2 separate regions of the Homo sapiens genome follow, and region 1 is linked to region 2. The links are contacts of gene promoters, found by promoter capture Hi-C in human tissues and cell types (Jung and others, 2019). All regions are on one chromosome and are shown on one strand. Each heading gives the region's core, a stretch centred on a gene start or on the middle of the fragment in contact. The rest is flanking DNA. Distances are from core to core; before and after follow the strand shown.

Evidence for each region. Contacts are between HindIII fragments. The study calls those that stand out against the background at their distance.
Region 1: a contact is called between a fragment that was not itself captured here and the fragment with the promoter of MED16 in region 2, in 1 of the 25 tissues and cell types used here (lymphoblastoid cells).

The regions. Positions count from the first base shown.
Region 1 is chr19:513,251-520,189 of GRCh38, forward strand. It overlaps TPGS1 (tubulin polyglutamylase complex subunit 1), which reads left to right. Exons shown (of 2, transcript NM_033513.3): 2 at 5,639-6,404. The coding sequence ends at 6,173. Among named protein-coding and RNA genes, the nearest start is that of MADCAM1-AS1, 8.8 kb to the left of the region's middle. RefSeq lists an enhancer at 5,208-6,114. The HindIII fragment of the contact is 7,591 bases long and covers 1-5,229 here.
Region 2 is chr19:891,850-898,660 of GRCh38, forward strand. MED16 (mediator complex subunit 16) reads right to left here and starts at 1,338. Exons shown (of 16, transcript NM_005481.3): 1 at 1,237-1,338. It overlaps RNU6-9 (RNA, U6 small nuclear 9), which reads left to right and starts at 1,635; the gene lies at 1,635-1,741. R3HDM4 (R3H domain containing 4) reads right to left here. Exons shown (of 8, transcript NM_138774.4): 8 at 4,654-5,691. The coding sequence ends at 5,588. RefSeq lists silencers at 956-1,005, 1,056-1,325 and an enhancer at 1,466-1,615. The HindIII fragment of the contact is 37,799 bases long and covers 1-6,811 here.

The DNA of each region.
Region 1 (6,939 bases), core at 184-2,683, 380 kb before region 2:
CAGCGCATTTTGGGGATGACCTCATGGATGGTAAAAGCGCCCAGCGGATTATAAGGGCCAACAAATGGGGCCTTTACTACTTGGGAGGGAAAAGGAGCGTACAGCCAGATGGGCCTAGAGTTGAATTGCAGGTCGCTGCCCTCCTGCCTCTGGGCCTCAGTTTCCTCCTCCATAGCAGAGCTTTGACCCTCGAGCTCGCTGAGATGGCACGTCCATCCCTAAGCCCTGAACTGAGCAGCAGTGATGACCAGGGAGGCACGTGTTCACCAGGCACCCACCGTGCACCGGCCCAGCATTACTGAGCACCTACTGTGCACCCGCCCAGCATTTACTGAGCACCTACTGCATGCCGGCCCTGCATTACTGAACACCTACTGCACACCAGCCCAGCATTACTGAGCACCTACTGCATACTGGCCCTGCATTACTGAGTACCTACTGCACACCAGCCCAGCATTACTGAGTACCTACTGCACACCAGCCCAGCATTACTGAGTACCTACTGCACACCAGCCCAGCATTACTGAGTACCTACTGCACACCAGCCCCACATTTACTGAGCACCTACTGCACACTGGCCCCACATTTACTGAGCACCTATTGCATCCTGGCCCAGCATTTAGTGAGCACCCACTGCACACAACCCCAGCATTACTGAGCACCTACTGTGCACTAGTCCTGCATTACTGAGCACCTGCTGCACACCAACCTGCCCCGGCCCCACATTTACTGAGCACCTATTGCATGCTGGCCCAGCATTTACTGAGCACCCACTGTACACAGACCCAGCATTACTGAGCACCCACTGCACACTGGCCCCACATTTGCTGAGCACCTACTATGTACCAGCCCTGCATTCACTAAGCACCTACTGTACACCAGCCCTGTATTACTGAGCACCCACTGCACACTGACCCTACATTTACTGAGCACCTATTGCATGCTGGCCCAGCATTTACTTCACTCCCACTGCACACCGCCCCAGCATTACTGAGTACCTACCGTGTACTGGCCCTGCATTCACTGAGCACCTACTCTACACCGGCCCTGTATTACTGAGCACCCACTGCACACCGACCCCACGTTTACTAAGCACCTATTGCTTACTGGCCCAGCATTTACTGAGCACCCACTGCACACCGCCCCAGCATTACTGAGTACCTATTGCACACCAGCCCCACATTTACTGAGCACCTATTGCATTCTGGCCCAGCATCACTGAGCACCTACTGTGTACCAGCCCTGCATTACTGAGCACCTGCTGCACACCAACCCTGCATTTACTGAGCACCTACTGCATGCTGGCTTAGCACTTCCCCGGCACCTACCACAGGTGGCCCACAGAAAGGTGAAGTCGTGTGCCCAGGTCATGCCGGAGGGAAGGCTGCCCTCCTCACCATGAAGCTGAGCTCCCAGAAGGGAAAAGCGTAAGCCCTGAGGTTGGCCACTTCCTCTCTGGGACCCTTGGCCAGACCATGGGGCTGCCCTGAGCCTCAGTTTCCCTATATGTCCCAGAGGAAGTAACAGGCCACTAGCATGAGGCCTGGCCGGGAACTGATGGGGGGAGTGAGGCCAGGGGGTTAAGCAGCCCACCCAGGGTCCTGCAGCGGCCCCCACGCTGGCCACGGTGCTCCCTGGCCACTCCCTGGTGCCCTCCACGGGAGTGTGTGTCACACTACCAGCACACGAGTGGCACGTAGTAAGGCCTCAGGCTCCTCACTGGGGCAGGGAATCGAACCCACCCCAGAGCCGGCAGCAGGGCTGACAGCCTTCTTCTGTAAGGGGCCAGATAGTGAACATTTCAGCTTTGCGTGGCAGCCTCCATCCTGACATTCAGCTCTACGGTTCTGGTCGGAAGCTGCCACAGGCCACATGTCAGCGGACTGATGTGGTTATGTTCCGATAAAGCTTTATTTACAAAAGCAGGCAGCAGGTCGTATTTGACCCTCAGGCTGACTGTGGGGCCTTGCCTGTGGGATTGTGGGGAGAGAAATACCACCACTGGCCCCGAGCAGCAACTGTCACCTGTAATCCCAGCAGTTTGGGAGGCTGAGGCAGGAGGATCGCTTGAGCCCAGGAGGTGGAGGCTGCTGTGAGCCCTGATTGTACCACTGCTCTCCAGCCTGCACAACACAGTGAGACCCTGTCTCAAAAAAAAAAAAAAAAGAAAAAATGCAATGTCAGCTGTGTTAAATGTTCAGCACAGACTGGGCGCAGTGGCTCACACCTGTAATCCCAGCACTTTGGGAGGCCGAGGTGGGCGGACCACGAGGTCACTCGAGATCCAGACCATCCTGGCCGACATGGTGAAACCCCGTCTCTACTAAAAATACAAAAATTAGCTGGGTGTGGTAACACACGCCTGTAATCCCAGCAGCTCAGGAGGCTGAGGCAGGAGAATCGCTTGAACCCGGGAGGTGGAGGTTGCTGTGAGCTGAGATTGTGCCACTGCACTCCAGCCTGACAACAGAGTGAGACACTGTCTCAAAAAAAGAAAGAGGGCCGGGCGCGGTGGCTCACGCCTGTAATCCCAGCACTTTGGGAGGCCGAGGCGGGTGGATCACGAGGTCAGGAGATCGAGACCATCCCGGCTAAAACGGTGAAACCCCGTCTCTACTAAAAATACAAAAAATTAGCCGGGCATAGTGGCGGACGCCTGTAGTCCCAGCTACTTGGGAGGCTGAGGCAGGAGAATGGCGTGAACCCGGGAGGCGGAGCTTGCAGTGAGCCGAGATCCCGCCACTGCACTCCAGCCCGGGCGACAGAGCGAGACTCCGTCTCAAAAAAAAAAAAAAAAGGAAGAAAGAAAGAAAGAAAAGAAAAAAACAAATGTCAGTTGTGTTAAATGTTGGGCACAGTATTTGGCCACATGTAAACAGGCGCTGCTGCTGCAGGGAGGGAGACCAGAGGGTCCTGGTGTTGTGGGACAAAGAGTGGAGAGACCGAAAAAGGTTCAGGAGAGTTTATCAAGGTGATCACCGGCTCAGCTGGACATACATCCAGAAAGTCTGAGCCTCGAACAAAGGGCTTTTCCTATTTTTAAACATCGTAAGGCGGGAACTACGTGAGGCGGGAAGCAAGTTACAGAGGCGAGAAACAAAGGCAGTTAAGCATTACAGCATTTCTTTTTTCTTTTTCTTTTTTTTTTTTTTGAGACGGAGTCTCGCTCTGTCGCCCAGGCTGGAGTGCAGTGGCGCCATCTTGGCTCACCGCAACCTCCACCTCCCAGGTTCAAGCGATTCTCCTGCCTCAGACTCCCGAGTAGCTGGGACTACAGACGTGTACCACCACGTCCCGCTAATTTTTGTATTTTTAGTAGAGATGGGGTTTCACCATGTTGGCCAGGATGGCCTCAATCTCTTGACCTTGTGATCCTCCCACCTCGGCCTCCCAAAGTGCTGGGATTACAGGCGTGAGCCACCGTGCCTGGCCAACATTTCTCACATCTTGAGAAAAACATGTCTTACAACCTAAACTTATCGGTTTTGTGACCCTGCAGCCGTGCTAGGGAGGTAAGCAGGAACTCGCTGGGCCTGTAATAAACTGAGGAATGTGGAGTTGGAGAGTATAGATAAGGTCCACTGACTACAGAGAGAAGACAGGCTGTTAACATTCTCTTTTAACTTGAGTGTAAGGGTGGGGGTCACACTTTGCAGCAACTTTAAGAGGATTTTAAAATTTCTATGACTACTACTATTAGGTTAGAGCTGATTTCACTAATTCCTTCTTCACTGGGGCCAGATGCCCCAGACAGATGCCTGCCGTTGATTCAAGACATTTACTGAGCACCTACTGTGGGCAGGGCAGTGTTCTGGGCACCAGGGCTATAACCAAGACGAACTTCCGGCCCTGGAGGGCAGGTGCTCACACTGGTGGGAGACATGAAGCTCACAGGGATGTGGGACAGCGAGTGAGACAGGATGACCACTAGGAAGAAAACAGGAGGAAAGGAGTTAGGGGTCAGGGGAGGCGACATTTGAGGAGAGACCTGGAGGAGACCAGGGAGGAGGTGAGGGAGATCTGGGGGAAGGCAGTGTCACGGCCCTTGCAGAGGCCCTGAGGCCGGTCCAGTTGGAGCTGGGAAGCCAGGGCTGGATGGGAGCTGCGGGGAGGAGAGGCCTGAGCTGGGTGGAGGCTGGGAGGGGGGAGGCCAGGCTGGGTGGGGGCTGGGAGGGGGGAGGCCAGGCTGGGTGGGGGCTGGCCAGGCTGGGTGGGGGCTGGGAGGATGGAGGCCAGGATGGGTGGGGGCTGGAAGGGGGGAGGCCCAGGCTGGGGGGTGCTGGGAGGACGGAGGCCAGGCTGGGTGGGGGCTGGGAGGGGGGAGGCCAGGATGGGTGGGGGCTGGGAGGAGGGAGGCCAGGCTGGGTGGGGGCTAGAAGGGGGGAGACCCAGGCTGGGGGGTGCTGGGAGGACGGAGGCCAGGCTGGGTGGGGGCTGGGAGGGGGGAGGCCAGGCTGGGGGGTGCTGGGAGGAGGAGGCCGAGGCTGGGTAGGGGCTGGGACGGGGGAGGCCAGGCTGGGTGGAGGCGGGGATGAGGGAGACCCAGGTTGGGAGGAGGAGGCCGAGGCTGGGGGTGCTGGTGGGGAGGGGAGGCCCGGGCTGGGCGGTGCTGGGAGGAGGGAGGCCAGGCTGGGTGGGGGCTGGGAGGAGGAGGCCCAGGCTGGGTAGAGGCTGGGAGGAGGGAGATCCAGGTTGGGAGGAGGCCCAGGCTGGGTAGAGGCTGGGAGGAGGGAGATCCAGGTTGGGAGGAGGCCGAGGCTGGGGGTGCTGGTGGGGAGGGGAGGCCCAGGCTGAGGGGGTGCTGGGAGGAGGAAGGCCTGGCTGGGTGGGTGCTGGGAGGAGGGAGCCCCGGGCTGGGGGGTGCTGGGAGGAAGGAGGCCAGGCTGGGTGGGAGCTGGGAGGAGGGAGGCCCAGGCTGGGAGTGCTGGTGGGGTGGGGAGGGGAGGCCCAGGTTGAGTAGGGGCTGGGAAGAGGGAGGCCCCGGCTGGGTAGGGGCTGGGAGGAGGGAGGCCAGGCTGGGTGGGAGCTGGGAGGAGGGGAGGTCCAGGCTGGGTAGGGGCTGGGAGGAGGGAGGCCCAGGCTGGGAGTGCTGGTGGGGTGGGGAGGGGAGGCCCAGGTTGAGTAGGGGCTGGGAAGAGGGAGGCCCGGGCTGGGTAGGGGCTGGGAGGAGGGAGGCCTGGGCTTGGGATACTGGGGGGAGGAGAGGCCAGGGCTGGGAGGGGGCTGAGAGGAGGAGGCCTGGGCTGGAGATGCTGGGGGAGGAGAGGCCCAGGCTGGGGATGCTTGGGGGAGGGAGGCCTGGGCTGGGAGGGGACTGGGAGGAGGGAGGCCTGGGCTGGGGATGCTGGGGGGAGGAGAGGCCCGGGCTGGGGATGCTTGGGGGAGGAGAGGCCCGGGCTGGGGATGCTGCGGGGAGGAGAGGCCCTAGCTGGGAGAAGGGAGGCGGGGGCTCAAGAGAGGAGCTTCAGGGATAGAGGGTGAGGAGGAGGGGAGGCCGGGGATGGGGGGTAGGAGGAGAGGGGAGGCCAGGGCTGGCTGGGGGGTCGGGGAGGCTAGGGCATAGGCCTGGCGAGGAGGGGAGGCTGGGGCTGGGTGGGCGCGCGGTCTCTGCCGGCCCCCAACGTCCCCGTCTCCGCAGGGCCGCCTTCAACAACAACGTGAGCGTGGCCTACGAGTGCCTGAGCGCCGGCGGGCGCAGGAAGAGGCCGGGGCTGGACGGGCGCACCTACAGCGAGCTGCTCAGGCGCATCTGCCGGGACGGCCAAGCCCCCGAGGAGGTGGTGGCGCCGCTGCTGCGCAAGGTGCAGTGCCGTGACCACGAGGCGGTGCCGCTGAGCGTCTTCCGCGCGGGCACACTCACCTGCTTCGTGCTGCTGGAGTTCGTGGCGCGCGCCGGCGCGCTCTTCCAGCTGCTGGAGGACTCGGCCGCCGCCGTGGCCGACCGCCGCGTGGGCCAGGCCGTGCTGGACACCCTGGAGGGCGCGCTGCAGGCCAGCGACGCCGCCGCGCCCGCGCGCTTCCTGGAGGCCGGCTCGCGCTTGGGGCCCGACAGCCTGGCGCTGGCGCTGGACCGCGCCGTCGGGGGGCGGCGGCCCAGCGCGCCCATGACCCGCGAGGAGTTTCTGGAGAGGGCCGCCGCGCTCTTCATCGCGAAGGTCAAGCCGGTGGGCTGAGGCCCGTGGGCCGCGCGGATCCGGGATCTGCGCTGGGGGGTCCCCGCGTGCGGGGCGCGCGGAGCCTTCCCTTCGCCCTGGTGAGGCCCTGCCATAACCAGGCGCCCAGCCCTGCGGAGGAGGCCGGGGCTCCCAGGAAGCGGACGCCCGGTCCCCACACAGCGCCGCGGCCGCCCCTCCACCCCCGCGGGAGCCCCTGCCCCACGCTAATAAAATGTGTTGCGAGGCTGACGCTGGTGTGTATGCGAGCGCCCGCCTCCCAGCCCCGGTGCCCGCAGAAGACGCTTTTCCCCAGCAGGTCACCCACGGCCCCGGAACCGCGGCGACTGGAGGCTGGATTCGAGGCCGGAAACGCCGGGACCCCTGGACCCGGCCTGGTGGGAGCAGCGGAGGGGGACGCCCCACGGGGCCCTGCGGAGCCTGAAGCCGGAGAGCAGGCGGCTCTTCTGGAACGCAGGGCCCGGGCCCTCCAGCCCCGCCCGGCCCAGGTATCCTCCCTGAGCCTCAGTCTCCCCAGATGTCAAATGAAGAGGCCAGCTGGGCAGATGGTAGTGACATTGGTGAGACAACAGCCCTAACACTTCCCAGGAACTGAAGTGCCTCATGTGATTGATTCCCAGGCCCAGGCAGCGGAGGTTACACCCTCAGCAAGGGCTCAGCTGGGATCTGCGCCCGGCCTGCTCCAGAACGCAGCCCACTCGCCACCGGTGGGGAGGGTCGTCCGGTATCCCCCAGTGCCCACCACCACCAACCAGAATCACTTCTC
Region 2 (6,811 bases), core at 88-2,587:
GTGTGACGGGGAACACCTGTGGCCGAGGCGGGGGCTGAGTGTGACGGGGAACACCTGTGGCCGAGGCGGGGCTGAGTGTGATGGGGAACACCTGTGGCCGAGCCGGGGGCTGAGTGTGACGGGGAACACCTGTGGCCGAGGCGGGGCTGAGTGTGACGGGGAACACCTGTGGCCGAGGCGGGGCTGAGTGTGTTGGGGAACACCTGTGGCCGAGGCGGGGGCTGAGTGTCACAGGGAACAGAGGGGGCACCTCCTCGAGGCTTTCTAAGCGCCTGGCATCCAGACGGGCTGTTTCGCTTCGCAAAGGCAAAAGCCCAGGGAGCCTGGAATCACCCGCAACCAGGTTCTCCTCAAACCCTAACCCCGGCTCCCTACTTCTTCAGGGCCTGCCCCAGACCCCCAAGGCTCCGCCACAAGCCTCTAAAAGTCTTTCAGCCCCACCCCTGACCCCCTTTGCTTCCCACACTTCATTTCACCCCTTGAGCCCACGGCCTCACCCTAAATTCTCAGGCTTCACCGTAGGGGTCCCATGTACTCTCCAGGTCCAGCCTCCAACGCCCTTAGCTCTCCAGGCCCAACCCCTAAAACTCCCCAGTCCCCAGACTCCACCCCGGGGACCCCACGTACTCTCCAGGCCCTTCCCCTATTGCCCCCAAATACGAGGCTTCATCCCAGGGACCCCATAGCCTCTTCAGGCCCCGCCCCTATAACCCCCAATCTCCAGGGTCCATCCCAGGGACCCCCTACCCTCTCCAGACCCCTATAACTCCGCAGTCCCCAGTCTCCACCCTAGGGACCCTATTCCCTCTCCAGGCCCCGCACCGATAACCCCGCAGTCTCCAGGCCCTGCCTCTACAGCCCCCCAGTCCCCAGGCTCCACCCCGGCGACCCCAAACCCACTCCAGGCCCCGCCCCCGAAGTCCCACCAAGCGCCTTCAGCCTCGCCCCAAACTCTCCTTAGGCCCCGCCCCGAACCCAGCCCCGCGGGCCTCAGGCCTCCCCCAGGTTTCCGCCGCAAACCCTGAGCCCCGAGCCCCGCGCCCCGCGCCCCGCGCCCCGCGCCCCGCGCCCCGCGCCCCGCGCCCCGCGCCCCAGGCCGCCTACCCAGCAGCCTTTGCTCCCGGCCACGCCCCCGACCCCGCAGGCCCCGCCACGGCTGCGCCGCGTTCCCTCGGGTCCGTGGACACGGTCAGGGGTCCGTCCGCCCTCGCCGGGCCCCCGCAGCCCCGCACTCACCTGGTCGGCCCGTGCGCCAAGCTCAGCGGGCGTCCGCGGTGCGATCTTCCCTAGCGCCTCGGGTCTGGCGCCGCCATCTTCCTCGGTAACAACCAGTCGCCTGAGGCGTGGGGCCGCCTCCCAAAGACTTCTGGGAGGGCGGTGCGGCTCAGGCTCTGCCCCGCCTCCGGGGCTATTTGCATACGACCATTTCCAGTAATTCCCAGCAGCCACCGTAGCTATATTTGGTAGAACAACGAGCACTTTCTCAACTCCAGTCAATAACTACGTTAGTTGCATTACACATTGGGCTAATATAAATAGAGGTTAAATCTCTAGGTCATTTAAGAGAAGTCGGCCTATGTGTACAGACATTTGTTCCAGGGGCTTTAAATAGCTGGTGGTGGAACTCAATATTCGTGCTCGCTTCGGCAGCACATATACTAAAATTGGAACGATACAGAGAAGATTAGCATGGCCCCTGCGCAAGGATGACACGCAAATTCGTGAAGCGTTCCATATTTTTTTTTTTTTTTCCATTTTCCCTCCCAGAAACGGAATCTTGCTCTGTTGCCCAGGCTGGAATGCAATGGCGCGATCTTAGCTTGTTGCAACCTCCGCCTCCCGGGTTGAAGCGATTCTCCTGCCTCAGCCTCCCGAGTAGCTGGGATTATAAACATGCGCCACCACGCCCGGCTAATTTTTGTATTTTGGTAGAGACGGGGTTTCGCCATGTTGGCCAGGGTGGTCTCTATCTACTGACCTCCTGATCCGCCCGCCTCGGCCTCCCAGAGTACTGGGATTACAGGTGTGAGCCACCGCGCCCGGCCTTTCTTCCATTTTCTAATGTCCAAGAGTGGGGAAACTGTAAGCGAAGTCACCGACCCCGTTGAGTATTCCTACTTCCAACCCTATTCCCACCTCCTCCTCCAAAAGCCAGTTTAATGCAATGGATGTGGTGCTCTTCTATTTTTATTTTTATTTTTTTTGAGACAGGGTCTCGCTCTGTGGCCCAGGCTGGAGTGCAGTAGCGCGATCTCAGCTCACTGCAACCTCCGCCTTCCAGGCTCAAGCGATTCTCCTGCCTCAGCCTCCCGAGTAGCTGGGACTACAGGCGCGCACCACCATGCCCAACAAATTCTTGTATTTTTAGTAGAGACGGAGTTTCACCATGTTGGCCAGGATGGTCTCAGTCTCTTGACCTGGTGATCTGCCTGCCTCAGCCTCCCAAAGTGCTGGGATTACAGGCGTGAGCCACCGCGCCCAGCCTGTTTTTTCAAAATTTTAATAGCGATGGGGTCTCACTATGTTGCCCAGGCTGATTTCAAACTCCAGGCCTCAAGCCCTCCTTCCACCCCGGCCTCCCAAAGTGCTGGGATTATAGGCGTGAGCCACCGCGGCCTCACTGCATGATTTTTGCAAGAATTCTGCAAATATAAAACTGTTCTAAAATTACAGGTTAACAATGGCCCAAATATCAGAGTGTTTTTTCTGGATCAGGGTTCAGTTCTCCAAGAGGGCCACGCAGTGACCTTACAGAAAATCCCCATTCCCAGGCAGCAGGTAGGGATTTAACGTTCTTAGCGGCCCGGGTGTGGTGGCACACACCTGTAATCCCAGTACTTTGGGAGGCCAAGGTCTGAGGACAGCTTGAGTTTGAGACCAGCCTGGGAAACATAGCCAGACCCCGTCTCTACAAAAAAAAATTAAAAATTAGCAGGGTTGGGGAGGGAGGGGCGCTGGGCAAGGTGGTTCAGGCCTGTAATCCCTGAACTTTGGGAGGCTGAGGCACGCAGATCACCTGAGAACAGGAGTTCGAGACTAGCCTGGCCAACATGTTGAAACCACATCTCTACTAAAAATACAAAAATATTAGCTGGGCATGGTGACACATGCCTGTAGTCCTAGCTACTCTAGAGGTTGAGGCAGGAGAATCACTTGAACCCAAGAGGTGGAGGTTGCAGTGAGCTGAGATCGCGCCACTGCACTCCAGCCTGGGGGACAGAGCAAGACTCTGTCTCAAAATAAATAAATAAATAAATAAAATAGCTGGGTGGGGTGATGCACACCTGTAGGCCCAGTTACTCAGGAGGCAAAAGTGGGAGGATCACTTCAGTCTGGGAGGTCAAGGCTGCAGTGAGCTGGGATTGTACCTCTGCACTCCAGCCAGGGCAACAGAGCCAGACCCTGTCTAAAAAAAAAAAAAAAAAAAAAAGAGAGGTTGAATTCCTAACTCCCACTACCTCAGAATGTGACCTTATTTAGAAACAGGGTCTTTGCAGAGGTAATCAGGTTAAAAGGAGGTGATTAGCATGGGCCTAACCTAATGACGGGCATCATAGAGATGGATATTTGGGCACAGACACGTGAGGAGAGGACGATGTCAAGACAAGACATAACACACAGGGAAAACGGCCACTTGGAGATGAGACCACAGCAATGTGGCCACAAGCCATGGACACACGAAGTCCCCAGAAACCGGGAAAGGCAGGAAGGCTCCTCCCCTAGAGACGCTGGAGGGAGCACTGCCCTGCAGACACCATGACCTCATTCTTCTACCTCCAGCATTGTGAGAGGATAGATTTCCCTTTTGCTTCTCTTTGACCTAGGGTCTTCCTCCATACCCAGGCTGAAGTGCAGTGGCACGGTCTCAGCTCACTGCAGGCTCAAGTGATCCTCCCACCTCAGCCTCCCAAGTAGCTGGGACTACAGGCGCACACCACACCCTGCTAATTTTTGTGTGTGTGACAGAGTTTTGCTCTTGTTGCCCAGGCTGGAGTGCAAAGGTGCGATCTCAGCTCACTGCAGCCTCTACCACCTGGGTTCAAGCAATTCTCCTGCCTCAGCCTCCTGAGTAGCTGGCATTACAGGCATGCACCACCACACTCGGTTAATTTTGTATTTTTAGTAGAGATGGGGTTTCTCCATGTTGGTCAGGCTGGTCTTGAACTCCTGACCTTGTGATCCACCCGCTTTGGCATCCCCAAAGTGCTGGGATTACAGGTGTGAGCAGCCACCATGCCCAGCCAACCCTGCTAATTTCTCTCATGTTTTGTAGAGACAAGGTCTTGCTATGTTGCCCTGGTTGGTTTCAAACTCCTGGGCTCAAGCGATCCTCCTGCCTTGGCCTCCCAAGGTGCTGGGATCACAGGCATGAGCTACTGCACTGGCCTTCTGTCGTTTCAAGCCCCCTGTGTGAGACCCTCCATTACAGGGGCCCCAAGGCACTCGTACAAGCCACTCACTCAAGGTCTACAGGGGCCCCAAGGCACTCCTACAAGCTCCTCACCCAAGGTCACACGGCAGGCATGTGGCAGAGCCAGGGTTTGAATCCAGGCAACCAAGGGCAGAGGAGCCAGGGGGGCACCTGCAGCCCTTGGTGGCCAGGACCTACTAAGCCCCCGGCCCTGCCCCGAAGAAAAACACACATAGCCCGAGGCCAGAGCACCAGAAATTTATTAAATTCCCCACTTTCCCCCAAAACACAATTACCCACACGCAGCAAGGGGGTGCGGAGGCCCCCCAGCCTGGCTCCTGCAGCCTGGGCCAGGAGGACCAGCATGGGGACACAGGAGCTATCAGGCAGGAGTCAGGCTGGGGGACGAGGGGACACGGGATGGGGTGACAGACAAGGTAGTGCAAGGGCAGAGGCTTCTGGCTGGAAGTCCTGGACCCCCAGCATAAAGGAGGGGAGGAAAGGAAGGGGGCTCATATAAAGCAGGAGACCCTGAGCCCCGACACAGGTGGCGTGGGGGAGGACACGCAGAATGACGAGGATAAAACCGGCTCTTAGGACCGTGGCTTCTGTCCTGGGTCTCAGGGCACACGCGCGCACACATATACAACACAAGATGCTTCTGGCATGAGGGGCAGGGTCCCAGAGACCCCACCCTCATTCAAGCTAAAAACTGGGAGGGGCTGAGCAGGGGCTGGGACCAAGACCCATGTTTTACCAGTGGGGCGAGTTTTTTTGGTTTTTCTCTCCAAAAGGGAAATTTAAAAATCTACAACAAATCACACCAAATTCATTAAAAGTGATAAAAACCCAGCCTCCCCCTCCTCACTTGAGCTTCAGACCGGGCCAGAAAAGCTCAACGATGAAGAAACAGGAACATGCCCAGGTCAGGTCTCCCCACCCAAACACAAGTCCCGGAGTGGGAAGCTTGGAGCTGGGATGGCATGGGCAGCCCCAGCCGCCAGCGTCTGTTGACTGCCAAGAGCTGCGTGAGGAGGGGGCAGAGTGAGAGAGACCACCCCAAGCGAAAAAGGTTTCCGAGGACAAATTCTAAAAATATGAAAGATATTTTAGCCGAAGGTATCGGAGGGCTTGATGGCTGGGCGAGGTGGCAGCGGGGTCTCCGCGGGGCCGCCATCAGCTGTGCTGCTCCAGGTAGGCGGACAGGAGCAGCCCCGGCGGCAGGAAATCCAGGTGCCGATTACTGACCTTCATCTGCCGCTTCCCCTCCAGGTCAGCACCTGCAGACGGGACCAGCGGGGCAAGAACGGGAGGAATTTGGGAGCCGCGGCAGGTAGAGGTGCCTCGGACCTGCACCACCCTCGCTTCTTCCCAGGGAGGTCACCGCCAGCTGGTGTGTGCTGGTCACTGCGGCCTGGCTGGCCCTAAGCCCGCAGGTCCGGGAGCCTGGCTCACAAGAATACCTAAGGCTCCCTACAGGAGCACTCTCCTCGGGCCCATCTCACTCCCCGCTGGCACTCATTCCACTGTGCGGATGGGGACCCTGAAACGCACTGGGCCTGAGGCCGCATGGCCACTCACACGCCTGCCTGGCGGAGTGTCCGGCCTCCCCTCAGGCTCCCTGCCCTGCAGAGGTGGCTCTGAGGCACCCAGGTCCTGAGTGGTCCAGCTCCCACCGGCCTCCCCTTCCCCATCTCCCCCTCACTGCAGAAAAATGAATGACCTGGCCAGGCGCAGTGGCTCATGCCTGTAATCCCAGCACTCTGGGAGGCCAAGGCAGGAGGATCATCTGAGGTCAGGAGGTCGAGACCAGCCTGACCAACATGGTGAAACCCTGTCTCTAGGGCTGGGCGCGGTGGCTTAAGCCTGTAATGCCAGCACTTTGGGAGGCTGAGGCAAGCGGATCACGAGGTCAGGTTGAGACCATCCTGGCTAACACAGTGAAACCCTGTCTCTACTAAAAAAAAAAATATATATATATATATATACAAAAAATTAGCAGGGCGTGGTGGCGGGCACCTGTAGTCCCAGCTACTCGGGAGGCTGAGGCAGGAGAATGGCGTGAACCCGGGAGGTGGAGCTTGCAGTGAGCTGAGATCGCGCCACTGCACTCCAGCATGGGTGACAGAGCGAGACTTGGTCTCAAAAAAAAAAAAAAAAAAGAAACCCGTCTCTACTAAAAATACAAAATTAGCCGGGCGTGCTGGCCGGCACCTGGGATCCCAGCTACTCGGGAGGCTGAGGCAGGAGAATCGCTTGAACCCGGAGGTGGAGGTTGCAGTGAGTAAAGATTACGCCACTGCACTCCAGCCTGGGTGGCAGAATGAGACTGTCTCAAAAAAACCAAACCTAACCAACCAAAACAAAAAAAAAGAGCCACGTCCCATGTGAGCTCCGCGC